3 separate regions of the Homo sapiens genome follow, and all the other regions are linked to region 1. Evidence: promoter capture Hi-C in 16 types of primary human blood cells and fetal thymus (Javierre and others, 2016). All regions are on one chromosome and are shown on one strand. Each heading gives the region's core, a stretch centred on a gene start or on the middle of the fragment in contact. The rest is flanking DNA. Distances are from core to core; before and after follow the strand shown. Region 1 holds the start of VASH1 (vasohibin 1). Region 2 overlaps LOC124903350 (a long non-coding RNA gene). Region 3 has its middle 2.0 kb from the start of LINC02289.

Region 1 (3,556 bases), core at 548-3,047:
GGGCTGGTTGTTCTCTGCTCCATGTCTGGGACCTCAACTCTAAGACTTAAAGGCCGAGGGCTGGCAAGACCTGAAGTCTCGGTTTGCCATGATCTGGTGATTGACTCTGGCTGTTGGCTGAGAGCCCAGCAGCAGCTGTCAGCGAGAACACCCTCATGTGGCCTCACCATGTGGCTTGGGCTTCTTCACAACATGGTAGCTGGTTTCTTCTGAGGAACCAAGAAGAAGCTGTCTCCTTTTTATGGCCTGGTCTTAAGAGTCATACAGCTTCACTTTCATCACACTTTATTCATTAGACACCAGTCACCAAGTACATCCCACATTCAGGGGGAAAGGAATTAGATCCCATCTTTTGAAAAGAATGGTCAAGAGCTTGCAAGCCAATTTTAAAACCAGCACCACTTGGCTAACACAAGAAGCAATGTATAGAGTGAAAAACAAGTGTCTGAAGAAGTAAGACTTCTGTTCACATTCTAGCTCTGCCACTTACTAGCTGTGTGAGTTTGGGGAAATTACCCTCTGAGACTTGGTTTATACAATACAGGGTGATAGTTGTTGATCCCTAGTGATTTTTCTACGCTTGGAGTCTTCTTGCCTTAGTGAGTTTAAGAAGATCCAGGCTGAACTAACTTTCTTGGAGTCTTGCAATCCTTCCCATCACTGATAACCCTTGGTTTCTGACCCTGGAGGTAGTAAGAGGTTGCTACGGGAGCACAGGGTACCCAGAAAGTTCAGATACTAGGGACAGCTTTAGAGAACAGATGTGAAACCACTGAGGCCCTGGGGTCTCTCTAAGGCCTTTAACCCAGCCCTTGTGTAGTAACCTCAGCTTGTCAAGAAATGCAACGACCCCACAACTAAGGAATCTGAATCTGCCGGCTAAGGCCAAGGAATCTGCATTCTCCCACAAGACTGTGATTCATGCTAACTACAGGCAGGGGAGAGGGGGAGCATCTTAAAGCACACACTCGGCCGTCTCTTCCTAAAGTTCTTGGCTTCAGCCTAGAGATAGTGCCTTTCCCACCATTTACAACTCTATGGCATGAGGGAGGCGGAGGGTGCGTCCAGTGTCCAACCACGCACCACAGCTGGTTGTACTTTCACCTTCCTCTAGGCCAGCGGACCCTCCCCAAGCATTGCCTCCCACGCCCACGTCGCGGTCCCACCCTGGTCCGCGGGGTCCAGAGCGTCCAAAGCCCGGTCTAGGCAGATGGTCTAGGGGTGAGCTCTGCGCACCCCATTCCCACCAGTGCAGGCAATCGAATAAAACAGGGTGACTTTTAACCCTTTTCGTTTCCAGAGATAGTGACCCCCCGTCTCAATCCCTAGATGTCCTCCTCTAAGAACTGTGCGCGCTGGGAGGGACTCTGCGCTCACTCACTGTGACCACCTCGGCTGGGATATGGGGAAACTGAGGCCTACAGAGGGAAGGGAACTGCTGAACGTCCCAAAGCAACACAGGCACTGAATCCGGTCTAGAATCCCAGTCTTCCAGGCCAGTGCTCTCGGTCCTACCGGCTCAGGGCCCCTGCGAAGAATCTTTTTCAAGAAATTCCCGACCGCAGGAATTCCTTCTGCGCTAGGAATCTCCATGGAGTTTGCGCTCCCTCTGGCACGTTGAAAACGTCCTCCGCAGCTTCGCACCGGCTTCGCGGCGCCCTGACAGCTGGGTGAGGAGGGAGCGAATGCCCACCGGCGTCCTTGGGGTAACTTGGGACAGAGGCACCGCCGCGGGGGGCGGAGGACTGGGCGCGAAGGCGCTGGCCCTTTAAGGGGGGGACGGAGCGCATGCGCGGCGCGGGCCGTAGTCGAGCCTGGTGGGCGGCTGGCTGGCAGGGGACGTGGTCGGCGGCAGCGGGGCCCAGGGGCGGCGGGGCTGCAGCAGCGGCGGCCCCAGCTTCGCCGAGCAGCGATCGGCTGGTGGGCTTCTCGTTGGCGGGCTCCGCGTTGGCGGGCTGCTCCCCAGGCACCAGCGCAGCGCGCGCTCGCCCGGCTTCGTCACTCGCCTCCAGCTACATCCGCCGGCCGAGGCTGCGCGAGCCTCCGGGCTTGCGGTCCCCGCCCCGCGGTCCTTCCTCCACCCTCAGCCAGGGCAGCTGCAGCCCGAGCGAACAGCCACGGAGCATCCTCCGCCCGCCCGGGCCGCGCCACCGCCCATGCTGCAGCCAGTCCCAGGCAGCGACCCCGCGGCCGCAGCCCGCCGCTCAGTGACCTCAGCCTGGCCCCTGCGCGCCGCCCGAGCCGGTCCCGCTGAGCCGCGGGCCCCGTGCCCTGCGATGGCTCGGCTGGTGCAGCGCGGCGCCAGGTGCCAGCCGTCCTCCCGCTGAGACGCGCCCGAGTGGGGACCCGCTGGGCCTCGGGGCTCGCAGCCTTCGCCTCCCCGCCGCGCCCGCTCCCTTTCTGGGGACTCCGCCGCTGTTTCTGGGGACGAGGGGACAGGGGACCCAGACAAAGCCCACTTTGTGCAGGGAGTTGGCCGCAGGCGGGGAATGTGCGCGTCGGCGCGCGCCCCCTCCCCGCTCCCGGCCAGCTGCGAGTCTTGGCTCCCGGACTTGTCTCGTCGCGTCGGAGAAATCGCCCCCCAGCGCCGCTCTCCCGCCCGGGGGTCTTGGTTCCGAGCTCGCGCGGCCGGGAGTCGCCTCGGTCTTCCTTGGGGCGCGCGCAGATGTGAGCGTGCGAGAGTTGTGTAGGGGATTTTGTTCCCTCCGAAACTGAGACCCAGGGCGCCCAGTGGGCACCCGTGCCTTGACTCTGTCCTTTCTGCAGCCGCTGGTCCGAGCTGTCTGGCCTCAGTTTCCCTCCGACTTTTCTCCGCTCTGCCAGCCCTCACTGCTGCCCGTCATTGTTCTCGCAGTTAGATGGGGGTGCTTTGTGACGGCTGCCAAGTTGGGGTGTGTTCTCTTTATTCCGTTTTTCAAACAGAACAAGGCCTCCAAGGCTGACCCCAGACAACCCACCCCCTCGGACCCTAATTCACCTTATTGCACTGATTTTTTTTATCAAGTCGTATTTTATTGTACAGGAGCCACGCCCTGATTTCTTAAAGGCGCCTTGCACTCTGGCCATGTGTTATCTCTGCAGCCGGTGTGTGGGAGGCCTCTTGTGAGCCAGTTGTTTTCCCGCCTCCACCACCCCCCTCGAAGATTTAGGGATGCCAGGGGGGAAGAAGGTGGCTGGGGGTGGCAGCAGCGGTGCCACTCCAACGTCCGCTGCGGCCACCGCCCCCTCTGGGGTCAGGCGTTTGGAGACCAGCGAAGGAACCTCAGCCCAGAGAGATGAGGAGCCAGAAGAGGAAGGGGAAGAGGACCTGCGAGACGGAGGCGTCCCCTTCTTTGTCAACCGGGGTGGGCTACCTGTGGATGAGGCCACCTGGGAAAGGATGTGGAAACACGTGGCCAAGATCCACCCCGATGGAGAGAAGGTGGCGCAACGGATCCGTGGGGCCACAGACCTGCCCAAGGTGAGACACACGGGTCAGGGGGGTGATAGCACAGTCTAGGTTTTAGTGACCTTGGGGCCAAGAGTGAAGCCACACTCTCCTCCCACGGGGCAGGGG
Region 2 (3,556 bases), core at 286-2,785, 330 kb after region 1:
GGGCTTAAGATTTTATTTTTATTCCTCATAGTGCTTCTAGCTCCCCACTGGCCTCCTCCTTAGCATAGCAGGAAAGGCTGAGATATTACCCATTTCCACTTTAACATGGAGGCTGTCAAGCAAAGTGGCAAGGACTCTGGAATTCAAATCCTGGCTCTACCACTTACCACGGGTGACCTTGGCAAGTGACGTGGGCCTCCATATCTGAGCCTCCTGCTCTGTAAAAAGAAAATAATGATACTACACCCATCTCATAGACAGTGGGAGGATTAAATGAATAAATGTAGGCAAATCACTTAGGACAGCATCTGGCAAATAATAAGCACTACGTGTTGTTATGGAAGAATTTGTCTTGGGTTCTAGAGTATCTTGGTGTCAAGCAATTCCTTAAAGGAATTTCAAGTATCAGCAAGAAGACAGAGGGCTATGTGGGAAGGGTTTACACTGTCTCTAAAATCAAAACCTTCACCTGTATATGAACAGCCTGACCATAACCTGAATATTACCCTTTTAGTGTACCTGCTCTGCCAAATACTTCCCTAAAATATGAGCCAAGAACCAGTCTGGCTGGTGAGGGCCTTGTTACCTGACTGCTAAGGGAAAAAAGGTCATACATCCCACTATCACTGGCCTCTGCCTCTGCCATCTGGCACCTGTAGATCCCCCTGCCCACACAGGCTGGAGCCCCTCTCTTCTCTCACTGACCCATGAGACACACTTACCACTCCATCAAATCCTATTTAAAGACTTATGAAGTGATCAGCACCAATAATGCTAGATGCTAGATTCAAACTACAGGATAACTATTTTACAGACGGCCAAACTGAGGTTCAGGAAAATGAAATCAATGGTTCCCAAACACCAGTCCAAGAACTGTTGCCAGTCCTTGTGGTGATGTTTTCACCAGTCTTCAGCCAAACTGGAAAAATAAGACTAAAAGCTTTAAGTTTTTCATACACCCGAAATTATTCTATTTTTAAATTGTGAGGTTATGTCCTATCTTCCCTTCTGTGTATACGGAAAAGATATCAAAATGACCCTTCTTTTGTAAAATGATATTGATAGGAGCTGGAATTTGAAACTAGATCACTGACTTTCACCGTCTCCTATTACACTATTTTAATTACTTCTAAATTTTTTTTTTTTTTTTTTTTGAGACGGAGTCTCGCTCTGTCACCCAGGCTGGAGTGCAGTGGCACAATTTCAGCTCACTGCAGCCTCCGCCTCCTGGATTCAAGCAATTCTCCTGCCTCAGCCCCCTGAGTGGCTGGGATTAAAGGCGCATGCCACCATGCCCAGCTAATTTTTGTATTTTCAGTAGAGACGGGGTTTCACCACGTTGGCCAGGCTGGTCTTGAACTCCTGACCTAGTGATCTGCCCGCCTTGGCCTCCCAAAGTGCTGGGATTACAGGTGTGAGCCACTGCGCCTGGCCCACTTTTAAATATTTTTAAATGACTTTAATTTTAAATTCAACAATTATTAAACAATCGTTTATAAATATTTTAAATTGTATAACATAATACACTTAAAATATCTTCAAATAAAACTCGGCCCATGGCTGACTCTTCATGGTATCCTAGGCAGGGTTAAAAACTCAAATCCTCACACGGATAGGCAGGTTACAATTTCAAGAAGTAGATGGGAAAAAAAAAGAAACATTCGCAAGTCCCTAAATGTAGGATTTAAGGGCGCATGTCTCCCCCTGCTGGTTGTGGTGGTAGGAAACCGAACCTAGACCACAATGGTACTGGGGAGAACTTGAATTGGAAAGGACCCTACAGCAAGAAGAATAGGTGCTTCAGAACCCACTATCCATCACAGGGTCCTTACCCCATCCATCATAGGGTCCTTACTCCAACCAAGAGTAAAGAGAGTAAAGTGAGTGAAGGTTAAAGAATTCGTGGCACCAGTAAACTATCAATAGATGCTGATTTACAAATCTTGGTAAATTAATAGGAAAGGAAGAAAAACGTTTACGGTGGTTTAGCTACATAAAAATATTCACTATCAATCTTCATGAATTGCTTATTCTGTATATCTAATTATATAGAATCATAGCATAAAATAATCATAAAAATTATGCCTATCATTAGTCTTGATTCATTTGGTTCCATTACAATACTTGTCTGAAGCTTAAGTTATTGGTACAGCATGGCTGTCTGCTCAAGATGTAGGTAAAGTCAAGGAAGTTTGGTTTATTTGCCCCTTCGGAGGACTAAGAGGGCCTCATGCTTTCGCATATTTCACTGATTCTTTTTTGCTTGGTATGCATTATCCCCTCACCTGCTTCCATTATTGCAAACCCAACTTTCAAGCTGTCTTTAAAGCTTTACCTGCTGGTCTCTTTCTACTCCAACAACCGAAAAAGAAAGTTTTTTTTTTCTCCCTTAATGTTATTGTTTTGTTCAGAATCTTTTGGTAGTTATCCCATTCTCTTTCATATTGCTTATTACATCATGTCTTATTTCCCATATCAGATTGTAAGTTATTTGAAGGCAGACTTTTATTCTTTTTTTTTTTGAATTTTATTTTTGTTTTGTTTTTTATTTAAGTTCAGGGATACGTGTGCAGATTCGTTACATAGGTAAACTTGTGTCATGGCGGTTTGTTGTACAGATGATTTCGTTACCCAGGTATTAAGCCTAGTATCCATGCTGCTGTTTTTTAAATTTTTTATTTCCATAGGTTTTTGGGGAACAGGTGGCATTTTGGTTATATGAGTAAGTTCTTAAGCGGTGATTTGTGAGATTTTGGTGAACCCATCACCTGAGCAGTATACACTGCACCCAATTTGTAGTCTTTTATCCCTCACCCCCTTCCCACCCTTTCCCCTTGAGTCCCCAAAGTCCACTGTATCATCCTTATGCCTTTACATCCTCATAGCTTAACTCCCACTTATGAGTGAGAACATACGATGTTTGGGTTTCTATTCCTTAGTTACTTCACTTAGAATATAAGTCTCCAATCTCATCCAGGTTGCTGCAAATGCCATTAATTCATTCCTCTCATAGTTTATTTATTTGCCCCTTCGGAAAACTAAGATAGGACCACACCTCATGCTTTTGCTTATTTCATTGATTCTTTTTTTGCTTTGTGTGCGTCGTACTCTCACCCACTTCCATTACTGCAAATCCAACTTTTAGCTATCCTTAAAGATTTACCTACTGATCTCTTCCTACTCCAACAACCAAAAAAAAACAAAGTTTTTTTTTCTCCCTTTATTTTATTAATTAGGTTTTGTTCACAATCTTCTGGTACTTATCCCATTCTCTTTCATATTATTTATTACAGCGCGTCTTATTTCCCATATCAGATTTTAAGTTATCTGAAGGCAGATTGTTTTATTCCACTTCAAAAGAAGGCAATATATTAATAGCTTCATGGATAAAAGCCACGGTTTTCGTTTGTTTGTTTTGGTGAGACGGAGATTTGTTGCCCAGGCTGGAGTGCAATGGCACGATCTCGGCTCACCGCATCCTCCGCCTCCCAGGTTCAAGCGATTATCCTGCCTCAGCCTCCCGAGGATTACAGGCATGTGCCACCACGCCCAGCTA
Region 3 (3,556 bases), core at 526-3,025, 320 kb after region 1:
ATGTTTTCCTTCCTGTCTCTCTGGAAATGACGCAAAGAATAACAACAACAAAAAAGAACTCCTTGTCCCGTGCAAAACACCCGCCCCTCCCCCGCCCCTGACCTCCTAACTCTTCACCCTGTGTTGGCCTGACTTCACCCTGGGATGGGGAAACTTCCTGGGAGGATATAGCTGACCTGGGAACAAAACTTGTTTTTTTGAAAGCTTTGTGCAACGTCAACTAAGTTGGGGGAGGGGTCTGGGCAAGGAAAGAAGAAAGCAAAGGGGGGCAGGGTGGGAACAGTTCTGCTAAACCAAACAATTCCCCAGGGATGATGGAGCTGTGGTGACCTGATAAGTCCTTTAAATGTCTTATTAATTACTGGGGGAAAAATTGGCTACTTCTGAGTCTCCCCTCTCTCACTGTCCTTGCACAAGCTTGGGACTAGCTCTGTCCTTTTTTAAGAGTCAGTCTTGGGCCGGGCATAGTGGCTCACTCCTGTAATCCCAGCACTTTGGGAGGCTAAGGCAGGAGGATCCCTTGAGGCCAGGAGCTTGAGACCAGCCTGGGCAACATAGCGAGACCTCATCCCTACAAATAATTTTTAAAAATTAGCTTGGAGTGTTGGTGTGTGTCTGTGGTCCCTGCTACTCAGGAGACTGAGGCAGGAGGATTACTTAAGCCCAGGCAGTGGAGGCAGCAGTGAGCTGTGATTGCACTATTGCACTCCAGCCTGGGTGATAGAGCAAGAACCTATCTCAAAAAAAAAAAAAAAAAAAAAAGAGTCCAGCTTTTTAAAGAAGGGTGCCCCTTGGTGGAAGACAACAGGACAAGGCAGGAGCTGGGGCTGCGGAGAGTCCGGGGTCTGCAGAGCATGGGGCTGCCATCAGAGACCCACCAGGCAGGTTCCTGCTCCTAGCAAGGACCCGGCTGAGCAGAGATGAGGGTGTGGAGGTGAACCTGGAAAACATGCAGAGGATTCTAGACACATTCCACAGTCAGAGCCTCTGGAAAGCCCACCTTCTCCATCACAGAGGCTTTGGGGAATAGACATCCTGTTTCTCTGTATTATTACAGCACAAAGCATTTATCATGCTGACAATGACAGTGACATTTCAGGACCTAAACAAGCTTAGTTGTTCACAGCTTACAGGAGAGAAGGCTCCTAACACTCTTTATTTATTTATTTATTTGTTTGTTTATTTATTTTGTTTTTGTTTTTTTTTGTTTTGAGACAGAGTTTCGCTCTGTCGCCCAGGCAGACAGAGTGCAGTGGCAAGATCTCGGCTCACTGCAAGTTCCGCTTCCAGGGTTCACGCCATTCTCCTGCCCAGCCTCCCGAGTAGCTGGGACTACAGGTGCCTGCCACGGCGCCTGGCTAATTTTTTGTATTTTTAGTAGAGGCGGGGTTTCACCGTGTTAGCCAGGATAGTCTCCATCTCCTGACATCTTGATCCACCCACCTCGGCCTCCCAGAGTGCTGGGATTACAGGCGTGAGCCACCGCGCCCGGCCTATTTATTTGTTTTTTGAGACAGAGCCTTGCTCTGTCATCCAGGCTGGAGTGCAATGGTGTGATCTCGGCTTATTGCAACTTCCACCTCCCAGGTTCAAGCAATTCTCCTGCCTCAGCCTCCCGAGTAGTCGGGACTACAGGTGTGCACTACCACAGCAGGCTATTTTTTTTTTTTTTTTTTAGTAGAGACAGAGTTTCTCCACGTTGGCCAGGCTGGTCTCGAACTCCTGACCTCAGACAATCTGCCTGCCACATGATTAGGTCCTGAGGGCTCTCCCCTCATGAATGGGATTAAGACTTTTATAAAAGAGGCCTGAAGGAGCTTGTTGACCCCTTCTGCCATGCAAGGACACAGAGGAGGCACCATGTATGAGGAATGAGCCCTCACAAGACACTGAATCTGCTGGCGCCTTGACCTTGGACTTTCCAGTCTCCAGAACTGTGAATGATAAATTTCCATTGTTTATAAATTACCCAGTCTAAGGTATTTTGTTATAGCAGCCAAAACCATCTACAGAGCACTAATGACAGTTTGGGCTGGATTATTCTTCGTTGTCGGGGCTGCCCTGTACATTGTAGGATGTTTTGGAATATCCCTGGCCTCTATCCACAAGATGCCAGTAGCGCCTCCCCCAACTCCATGACAAAACTGTCCCTTGGGGGCAAAATTACCCCTGGTTGAGAATCACGGCCAAGTAGCAGTCCCCATTCAGTGACCAGACAGCTAAGGAGATCCAGAGTGTAGTGCTGGGCCACACAGATGCTAAGGGAATTTATACTTCAGGAAAAAAAAAAAAAAGGCCAAGTCTATGTGGCCTTCGCATCAGTTATTACTCTCTCGGTTGCACTAAGTGACAGAAAATTCACCTCTAAATGACTTTAAATTGGGATGCTGTTTCATATAACTAAGCAGACCAGGGATTAGGCATTGTGCTGGTTCAGGCCAAGCTTGATCCAGGGATTCAAACAATATCACCAAGATTTGGCTTTATCTTTATCCCCGATGCTGCTCTTCTCCATAGCGTTTTCTTGTTGGGATAAGATGGCTGCCAGCAATCCAGTCCCACCTCTTCCTATGCCTGAGACTTGTGAGGAAAAAACATGAAGTGCTTTTCTTTTTGCAGTCCCAGCAAAAGTCTCATTCCACTGAACTGGCTCTGACTTGAACATGAATCCATCATCAAGCAAGACACCATGGCTGGGGAATGTGATGGCCTAAGTGGCCAGGTTGTAGTCACATAACCACTTCTGGATCTGGGAGTGGAGTCAACTCTGTCTGTGGGACATCAAGAATGGGGAAGTGGGGTTCCCAAGAGGAAAGTAGCATACTACCACTGGGAGACAGGTGAAAGGATTCTTGATGACAAAAAGCAATACATAGCTACCACAGTCTTTTTTTTCTTTTCTTTTCTTTTCTTTTTTTTTTTTTTTTTTGAGGCAGGGTCTCACTCTGTCGCTCAGGCTGGAGTGTAGTGTGAGATCTCAGCTCACTGCAGCCTCAACCTCCTAGGCTCAAAGAATCCTCCCTCTTCAGCCTCCAGAGTAGCTAGAATTATAAGTGTGCACCACCACACCCAGCTACTATTTGTATTTTTAGTAGAGATGGAGTCTCACCATGTTGCCCAGGCTGATCGCGAACTCCTGAGTTCAAGTGATCTGCCCACCTCGGCCTCCTGAAGTGCTAGGATTATAGGTGTGAGCCACCACACCTGACCTACCAAAGTCTTTATACCAAAAAGAAGCTCACTCTTAAATTGATTAAGGTGAGAGCTAAAAGTTTAAAGAAGACTCTGCCGAGTGGTAGTATAATACCTGTGCCATGATTGTCCAAATCAACCTCCAGGTGACAAACAAGAACTCTTTCAGGTATCTCTAAGATAAACTAGCATCTGAGATGGTTCATTCAGATGGATCTCTAAAATGGAGACTGCCAGAGTTTTACCAAGATTTTTCCTCCCATTTTTTCATAGTAACATATATGTAGTTGGGTCCATAGTTGCTCAGCTGGAGATAGCATTTCCCAATTTTCCTTGCAGTTCAAATCGTAGTACATGTGAGTCC

Evidence for each region. The method cuts DNA at HindIII sites, captures the fragments that hold promoters and counts their contacts. A CHiCAGO score of 5 or more calls a contact.
Region 2: a contact is called between a fragment that was not itself captured here and the fragment with the promoter of VASH1 in region 1, in 2 of 17 cell types (monocytes and M2 macrophages). The highest score is 9.4, in monocytes.
Region 3: a contact is called between a fragment that was not itself captured here and the fragment with the promoter of VASH1 in region 1, in 6 of 17 cell types (monocytes, total CD4 T cells, fetal thymus and 3 more). The highest score is 6.1, in monocytes.

What each region holds. Positions count from the first base shown.
Region 1 is chr14:76,759,671-76,763,226 of GRCh38, forward strand. VASH1 (vasohibin 1) reads left to right here and starts at 1,798. Exons shown (of 7, transcript NM_014909.5): 1 at 1,798-3,460. The coding sequence starts at 3,152. RefSeq lists silencers at 1,765-1,954, 2,055-2,324. The HindIII fragment of the contact is 7,359 bases long and covers 1-3,556 here.
Region 2 is chr14:77,093,163-77,096,718 of GRCh38, forward strand. It overlaps LOC124903350 (a long non-coding RNA gene), which reads right to left. Exons shown (of 2, transcript XR_007064275.1): 2 at 3,303-3,556. Among named protein-coding and RNA genes, the nearest start is that of CIPC, 3.3 kb to the right of the region's middle. The HindIII fragment of the contact is 1,194 bases long and covers 939-2,132 here.
Region 3 is chr14:77,076,390-77,079,945 of GRCh38, forward strand. No RefSeq gene overlaps it. Among named protein-coding and RNA genes, the nearest start is that of LINC02289, 2.0 kb to the left of the region's middle. The HindIII fragment of the contact is 1,332 bases long and covers 1,110-2,441 here.